3 separate regions of the Homo sapiens genome follow, and all the other regions are linked to region 3. The links are contacts of gene promoters, found by promoter capture Hi-C in blood cells and fetal thymus (Javierre and others, 2016). All regions are on one chromosome and are shown on one strand. The core of a region is centred on a gene start or on the middle of the fragment in contact, and the rest is flanking DNA. Distances in the headings are between cores, read along the strand shown. Region 1 has its middle 140 kb from the start of SH3BGRL. Region 2 has its middle 190 kb from the start of SH3BGRL. Region 3 holds the start of HMGN5 (high mobility group nucleosome binding domain 5).

Evidence for each region. The method cuts DNA at HindIII sites, captures the fragments that hold promoters and counts their contacts. A CHiCAGO score of 5 or more calls a contact.
Region 1: a fragment that was not itself captured here is called in contact with the fragment with the promoter of HMGN5 in region 3 in 2 of 17 cell types (M2 macrophages and M0 macrophages); the score reaches 6.1 in M2 macrophages.
Region 2: a fragment that was not itself captured here is called in contact with the fragment with the promoter of HMGN5 in region 3 in 4 of 17 cell types (monocytes, M2 macrophages, M0 macrophages and 1 more); the score reaches 9.8 in monocytes.

Annotation. Positions count from the first base shown.
Region 1 is chrX:81,344,939-81,347,881 of GRCh38, reverse strand. No RefSeq gene overlaps it. Among named protein-coding and RNA genes, the nearest start is that of SH3BGRL, 140 kb to the right of the region's middle. The HindIII fragment of the contact is 4,166 bases long and covers 1-2,943 here.
Region 2 is chrX:81,390,610-81,393,427 of GRCh38, reverse strand. No RefSeq gene overlaps it. Among named protein-coding and RNA genes, the nearest start is that of SH3BGRL, 190 kb to the right of the region's middle. The HindIII fragment of the contact is 192 bases long and covers 1,205-1,396 here.
Region 3 is chrX:81,200,470-81,203,379 of GRCh38, reverse strand. HMGN5 (high mobility group nucleosome binding domain 5) reads left to right here and starts at 1,467. Exons shown (of 7, transcript NM_030763.3): 1 at 1,467-1,643. It overlaps SH3BGRL (SH3 domain binding glutamate rich protein like), which reads right to left and starts at 1,278. Exons shown (of 4, transcript NM_003022.3): 1 at 1,135-1,278. The coding sequence starts at 1,179. RefSeq lists enhancers at 1,083-1,252, 1,373-1,622. The HindIII fragment of the contact is 6,013 bases long and covers 1-2,910 here.

The DNA of each region.
Region 1 (2,943 bases), core at 411-2,910, 140 kb before region 3:
AACCTGATGACAAATAAGTAGAGGGAAATATACAAATCACTCACAGTTTAAAGTTCATTTCTCCTTTAAAATAAAGACAATGCATACTATATACAAATGAGTTTTTCCCCCATTAACACCTTATTCCTCCAGCTTTCAGACACTGACTAAAAAATCTGAGGATTGTCACTTAGCATAATAACATTCCTTGGAGCTTCCCATAGGACTGTTAACCCGGGTGGCATAAAAACCTCTACTAATTTTGCCTATACAACACGCTGACAACCATCCACTGGGAAGGTCTTTTCTCTTCTCCTAAATCCCCTGTCATGGGTAAAAAGGTGACCCCTCCCCCCAAAAATAGATGTCTACATCTGAATCCCTGGAACCTGTGAATGTTACCTTATTTGGAAAAAGGGGTCTTTGTAAATGTAATTAAGGATTTTGAGATGAGGTGATCACCCTTAATTATCCAAGTGAACCCTAAATCCAATGACAACTTTCCTTATAAGGGTAAGGAAGAGGGAGATGATTAGACAGAGAGAAGAAAGAGGAGGCATTGTGATCATGGAAACAGAGATGGCAGTGATGCAGCCACATGCCAAGCACTTCCAGAAACCAACAGATGCCAAAACAGACTAAGAACATTTTATCCTCTAGAGTCTCCAGAGGGAATGTAGAAATGTTGATAGCTTCGTTTCAAACTTCTGGCTTCCGGAACTGTGAGAGAATAAATCTCCATTGTCTTAAGCCACTTATTTGTGATAGTTTGTTATGGAATTCACAGGAAGTTAATATATACCGCAACCGCCATTTCCCAAAAAGAAAGCAGAAGAGAATTAAAATATCTGGGATCACGGTTGAGGTTGAAAGAAGAAAAGGTTTCCCTTTACACTGATAAAGGATAGACACAGACATATTCCTAAGGTTGCACTATGGGTGAAAGCTAGTGGAATAAGGCAAGAGTCACTCTCAAATCCCAAGTACCTTTTATATTAATTCTGTAATGCAGAGACTTTGGAAAGAAAGGAGGTTATGTGAAATTAATATCTAGTAGTATGCTACTGGCCTTGTTGAGAAAAAGAAATAAAACAGCAGAAAATACTACAGTATATAGCACACATATAAAAGTACATAACTCAGAACTCACTCGAGGTGGAAAACCAGTGGGCACTGCTTGAAAACATTGTAAGGTGAATAAGAAACACACAGCCACCTGAAGCAAATCACTATGACCTATACATACAGCACACTGTCTAAATCTTGGTAGGAAAGCCTGAGAAGAAAGTTTCTTCGGGAAACTTGGGCATGCAAAAGTCCTCCTATATACCGGGGAATTTAAAAATAGACTTAATGCTAAGGACAGAATGCATGCTCAGAAAAGGCTTGAGAAGACCCTAAGATTTCACCTCTGGCTAATATCTAGACTCAAGGCAAGCAGAAAGTGAAGGTTATGTCAGACTTGCAAATGGCTTGGCTAAGCCTAAAAGCCTTGCCATAGCACAAAGCCAATACTCAAAGAGTGGGAGTGGTGTTTTGTATGTGTTTGTTTTTTTGAACTCCTCGACCTTAAGAAAATCTCAGAAAACACAAGCTGAACAGAAGCTAATAGAACTAGAGACTTCAGTGAACACAAGTTCAGTGAATACAATCTTTGCAATAGAAAAATAGAAAAACTGTAACTTTCAGGAATAAAGAACAACCAACCTTGGTAACTACATTATAATAGTCAAATGTGCAATTTTTGAAATACAATGAGTATACAAAGAAACAAAAAAGTACAGCCATTCAAAGGAAAAAATAAATCATTCCTGAGGAAGACCAGATATTGGACTTACCACACAAAGGCTTTAAGTCAACTGTATTAAATACACTCAAAGAGCTAATGGAAACTATGAATGAAGAACTAAAGGAAACCAAGAAAGCAATATATTGAACAAAATGAGAATTTTAATAAAAAGAAACTATAAAAAAGGAACCAAAGTGAAATTATTAAGGGAGGAGCCAAGATGGCCGAATAGGAACAGCTCCGGTCAACAGCTCCCAGCATGAGCAATGCAGAAGACCGGTGATTTCTGCATTTCCATCTGAGGTACCGGGTTCATCTTCACTAGGGAGTGCCAGACAGTGGGTACAGGTCAGTGGGTGTGCGCGCAGTGCGCGAGCCGAAGCAGGGCGAGGCATTGCCTCACTAAGGAAGTGCAAGGGGTCAGGGAGTTCCCTTTCCCAGTCAAAGAAAGGGGTGACAGACTGCACCTGGAAAATCGGGTCACTCCCAACCGAATACTGCGCTATTCCGATGGGCTTAAAAAACGGCGCACCAGGACATTATATCCCGCACATGGCTCAGAGGGTCCTACACCCACGGAGTCTCGCTGATTGCTAGCATAGCAGTCTGAGATCAAACTGCAAAGCGGCTGCGAGGCTGCGGGAGGGGCGCCCACCATTGCTCAGGCTTGCTTAGGTAAACAAAGCAGCCGGGAAGCTCAAACTGGGTGGAGCCCACCACAGCTCAAGGAGGCCTGCCTGCCTCTGTAGGCTCCACCTCTGGGGGCAGGGCACAGACAAACAAAAAGACAGCAGTAACCTCTGCAGACTTAAATGTCCATGTCTCACAGCTTTGAAGAGAGCAGTGGTTCTCCCAGCACGCAGCTGGAGATCTCAGAATGGGCAGACTGCCTCCTCAAGTGGGTCCCTGACCCCTGAACCCCGAGCAGCCTAACTGGGAGGCACCCCCCAGCAGGGGCAGACTGACACCTCACACGGCCAGGTACTCCAACAGACCTGCAGCTGAGGGTCCTCTCTGTTAGAAGGAAAACTAACAAACAGAAAGGACATCCACACCAAAAACCCATCTGTACATCACCATCATCAAAGACCAAAAGTACATAAAACCACAAAGATGGGGAAAAAACAGAACAGAAAAACTGGAAACTCTAAAAAGCAGAGCGCCTCTCCTCCTCC
Region 2 (2,818 bases), core at 51-2,550, 190 kb before region 3:
TTAGACAGATGAGATCAATGGAAATTTATTAGTCACATGTACTCATAGCCCAAAGGAAAAGAACACTACACATGACTCAGGGCAATGTTGCGATTGCACTTGGGAACAGAGTGAACAAGAGGGGCTGTGGAAGTCAGGCTTCGTAATGTAAAGAAGGTGAGGTGGCTCCTGGTTCTATGAGGGGTTGGCATTGATTTGTTTGAATAATTTGACAGAGAACTGAAACCTGCTACTCTGGGACAAGCAAGAACTGTGCTTAGTCCCTTTGTTAAGGAGGGTGGTCTTTCTAGGAGATGTTATCTGCAGTGACAGAATAGGGATGAAAATTTTGCAGTTAGGCCTTTTGATGTCCTTCTGGTTTCAGATAACAAAGAAGTATATAATATTGGGCCTTAATTTTATGCCTTACATCACAAAAGCCTCTTTAAAAGAATCAGGTGAAAGCTGTCCTGTTTCTCAGTCTATATGACCTAGTAGATTTGATGGTTTTAGAGGCATCTGTAGTGGATGAGGATGCTATGTGGATTCTCCAGTTAATCTCAATTGAACAGTCATAGCACAGATCTCAGAAAGCAAGGTCTTACTTTCTGTAGCAGAGCACTGCTTTTTGGAAAAGCAGACCCTAATAGAAACTGAGCACATAACTAAGGGACATCAAGTGACTATGCCACTAGATCATGAGCTGGTTATTATCAGATTTACCAAGTCAACAGCAATCCATTATAAAATAGACTGTTTTCAAGGTCTCAAGTAAGTTATGCAAGCAGATAGCCCAAACTATATGTCACCTTCCTCTGTTGCACTGAAGTGTCTTCCTCATATGGGGTTCTCCATGAGCAGCTGTCAGAAAATAGGGGAACTATTCCAGGGCCTGGCTCACAGTTTGGTAAGCTCAATACTCAATATGTATTGTAAACCAAAAGTAGCCTGCTACTGCCTCTGCATGACTTACACATGGATGTCTCTAAAGGACAAAAGTAGGGAGGTTGTTTTAACTAGTACACCTGGTTATAAACTTAGTGTATAGTTAATTAATTGCAATAATAACTGAAATGATTTACCCTGTTGTTTCTGACTTTTCAACTCCTCCCATTAAAAGATAGTGTCTATTTCCCCACTCCTTGACAATGGGTGGGCGTGGCGATTTGTTTGATTCATTAAATGCAGCATAAGTACCAATTCTGGGCCTAGTACTCAATAAGCTTCTCTTCTGTCTTTCAGAACCCTGGTATCACCATGTGAAGAAGTCTGAGACAGTCTTCTGGATGATAATTGCCATGTGGCTCCAACTGCCCTAGGCAACAGGCAACAAACTACCAGACACGTAAGTAAGGCCCTCCTATACCAGCCATCTCCCAGCTGTTCCACCAGTTGACTGCAGGTGCCTGAACAAGCTTGGATGAAATAAACCAACGCTGATCCAGGAAAACAGAACTATCTAGCTAACATTTTTTTGGGTTATTAATGAAAATACAAGTTTACTGTTTTAAGCAACTGGGTTTTGAGGTGATTTATTTTGTAGAAACAGCTAACTGATACAGCCTAGAACAAGAAATGGCCAGAAGCGTGGATAGCCATAGATGTCTGGGTGGTGTTAAATGTACTCACTGGATCGTTTGAAATCTAGAAATAGCAAGACTGAAATTGGAGACAAGGGGGTCTAGAGTAGCAGTACAGGGATGACCTATGGAATGGGTGAAGGATGAAGTTTGTGACAAACATTAATGTTAAGGAGCTCCTCAATATCTAAGAGAACAGGATAATTTATCCTACGGATATCAGCCAGCCTCTCACCTAAGCTACCCCAGTGCTTTTTTAATGGTACATTGAATAAAGTGGCTATGGTAGCAGAAATAAAAGCTAGGCATGAGTTTCCCCTCACAAAGGTTGATATAGCTACCTCTATGCTGAATGCCCAATCTGCTAGCAGCAGAGACTGACACTGAGCCCTTGATATGTATAATACCATCCAGCCACTTTGTTGCAGGTGAATTAAATTAGTGCTCTTACACCCAGGGTTACTAGTTCTACCACGTATCATATAATCTGAAATCAGCCCGCTTAGTTGAATGGCCTAGCAGAGACCCAGTGTAGGTTCTATTTGGGAACTCACTCTAAAAGGTTGGACCATGATGCTCCAGTATGTAGTATATTCATTAAAACAATAGTTGATATAATATGATTTTGTGTCCGCAGTAGCTGAAATAAATTGTTCCAGGCAACAATGGGATTGCCACCTCTCTCCAACACTTGTAGACTTTGGTTATTCATCCCTAAACCCTTAGACGCTGCCAGATTTGAGACTTTGCTTTCAATGGAGAATGCTTCTACAAAAGGAGAGTGGAAGGATGCCATTGAACATGAAGTTACAACAATCTGCCACTTAATTCTTTTGGATTTTTTATGAAAGGCACCAGAAAGCAGAAAAAAAAACAGTTAATATTACTGGGGAAAACTGACCCAAATCACCTTGTGGAGCTAGGTTTACTGTCACATGATTGAGGTAGAGAGAAATTTTTAGAACCCAAGGATACTGGGGTATTTCTTTGTGCATTCATGCCTCATGATAATGATAAATGAACAAATACAGATATCACAGCCTGGCAAAAGCAAGTCAACCAAGGGCCCAAAGCCCTTTAGGCTGAAATTTTTGGTCATCCCACCAGACAAGCAACCTGTAATAACTACAGTGATGGCTGAGAGTGAGGGAAAAATAAACTGCAGGTAGAAGAGTGAGACAATGAATATCAATATGGACTTTAGACCAGTTGCAACAGCAGGGACAATAGCATATTCCATTAATTGCCTTCATGTATTG
Region 3 (2,910 bases), core at 218-2,717:
AGTTCAAATATCAAGGTTCTTGTGATTTAACATAACCTCCACTTCCATTCCACATCCTCTCAGGTGTAAATAAACAAGCCAAAAAATAAAAACACACAACAACCTGGATTAGCTGCTGCTCTAAAGCTCAAGAAGAGGGAAGGGGTTCCTATACCCTACAATCTGAACCCACACATCTGTTCTTGCCACTGTCTGCCTTTCTCTTGAGTTGTAAAAAGCAGAAGCACTTTCATTTATCATGGATATACACTCATCTTGCACCCCAGTTTATCATATTCTCCCGACAGCTGCTGAAAATTTGTTATTCTAAATTAAGAGTAAGTGAATCCATGAAAGAGAAAGTCCTATCATTTGAAGCAGCAGCAACTCAGGCTGCCACTACACAAGAAGCCACTGAGCTCCCTATCCAGTTCTCAATATACTTGAAGCAGTGAGAGAAATTTAAAAGTAAAATATTTTGAAAGAATAGAAACAGTCAAAATAAGGGACAATATGGGGGGAAAACTGAATCTCGTGTCATATTAAGTTAAAAAAAAATTTACGTCATTGTTACCAACTTCCCCTCCCAATTTGTCTAGTTCTAACAGGCCTTCAAGCTCAAGTTAACCACTTTCTTCTACACACTCTCAAAATAACTCTATTACCAGGGTCTCACTCACCCAGAATAATTACAATGCCTCGGTAGGCCTCCACTCAATCCCCACCAGTTACAGCATGTGTACCCCCATCCTTTACAGAAGTGCACTCCTCCTTGTCTCAGTACTTAGGGCGTATTCATCAAATGTCTCACTCTTGAAACTCACCAGTGTGCGATTTTACTTGACTTCACGTAACCCTAAAGACCGTATAGCACCATCTCCCATCTCCCAAAACTTGGTAGCTTTCGTTTTCCTTCAAAGCAGAAATGTGCCCCCCAACGTCACGAAGCAAACAAAGCTGAACTCTATGTGGAAAAAAAAAAAAATGAAATCGATGCAACAAAGGGAAAAAAGGGAAGAAGAAGGGTGGGATCGGGGATGCATGAGTCTTCCAAAGGAGAAGCTGCCAGAGGAACTTCTGCATTTTAATGGTTCTGGGGCAGCAGAGGACTGGTGTGTAGGAAAACAACAAAGGTGGACTCCCCACTCTCCTTACCGCTGTAGAGCCAGAGGAAGATGCAATATATACACGGATCACCATCCTGGGAACAGCGGCTGCGGTTGTTTGGGTCCTGAAAAGGGCTGTGGAGCAGCTGCAGCAATGGCTGGAATCCAGCTAGGGGCTGAAACAGCGGTTGGCAGAGAAGGGTGGGGGAAGGTGGAAGGAGAACTCGCCAGAGCCCCGCCTCCGCCTTTAGCAGCTTCCACCGAGCTCTCTAAGCGCTGCAGTTCCAGCCCAAAACCCCGGAAGGAACAGGCTGTTTGCATCAATTCTATTTTTTTTTAATAGGGAATCTCGAATAGCACCGCGAGATCTGTTGAAACATTGATTTTTGACGATTCCTTCCCTGAGAAGAGGGCGAGGAGAAGAAGAAAGAAAAAGGAGAACTGAATTGAATTAGATTAGCATGAAGGACCTTTTCACGCGGAGACTAAAAGTACTGCGCATAACTTCCTGCTCAGAAATATATGCAAATAAGAAGACAGATCCTGAAAGAGCAAGCTGTATGTTGAAAACCCATGTTCTCAAAGCCTTGCGCATTTTAAGATTCCTATTACGTAGTGATTTTTCTGATCTTAGCTCGTTGTAGGAATTAGGCACTAAAGTACTGAGCAATGCTGCAGAGTTTTGAAGGAAAGTTTCAGGTTTCCTTAAGCCCAGAAATGGCAGGATTGGTTTTCTTTTTGAATTTTGTGTTTTGTTAAATTAGGGAACCCTGCTTCCGTGGGAATTTGCAGGAGGCCTGATTGGCAAGTTTAAGAATGAAGGAATAAATTACAAAGAAAAGATTGAAAATATTGTGTAAAAAGATGGATGATTTTTGTTTTGTTTTGCTTTTTAACTGACTGAAGTAAGGGATTTGGGAGAACATATTGCAGATGTTGAAATGGTGAAGAGAGAGATCAGATGGTTATTTGTAGCTCTAAGGAAATGAGCAAACAGTTAATAATGTCCAGAGACAGACCATATACTTCAAAGTGTAGTTTTAGGTTCCCAGATTATGTTAAATGAACAGAAAAAAAGGAATTTGCAAGATGAATGAGAGTGGAGAGGAGTCAGTCGCTTGTCCTACTTCTTTTCCTTTGCTGTTTTTCCACTGTCTCCAGTCTAGTGGTTTACTGTCTTTGCCTAGGCTCAGTGCTTACAATAGCTTTGTTAACTGTTCCCTACCCACAGGTTTTCCCTTCTCCAATCTGTCTTAAATACTAATTCCAAATTAATCTCTTTACATGTTGTCCTTAAAACAACCTCAAGAGGTGGGTACTATTACATTAATTTTACAGATGAAGAAACTGAAACTCAGAAAAATAGTTTTCCTAAAATCATATGGTTAGTACATTCCAGAGTTAGGAACTCCAGAGGCCACCTTCTTATTTTTTTTTAATTATACTTTAAATTCTAGGGTACATGTGCACAACGTGCAGGTTTGTTACATAGGTATACATGTGCCATGTTGGTTTGCTGCACCCATCAACTCGTTGTTTACATTAGGTATTTCACCTAATGCTATCACTCCTCCAGCCCCCCACCCCCCGACTGGCCCCGGGGTGTGATGTTCCCTGTCCTGTGTCCATGTGTTCTCATTGTTCAACTCCCACATATGAGTGAGAACATGTGGTGTTTGGTTTTCTGTCCTTGTGATAGTTTGCTTAGAATGATGGTTTCCAGCTTCATCCATGTCCCTGCAAAGGACATGAACTCATCCTTTTCTATGGCTGCATAGTATTCCATGGTGTACATGTGCCACATTTTCTTAATCCAGTCTATCAC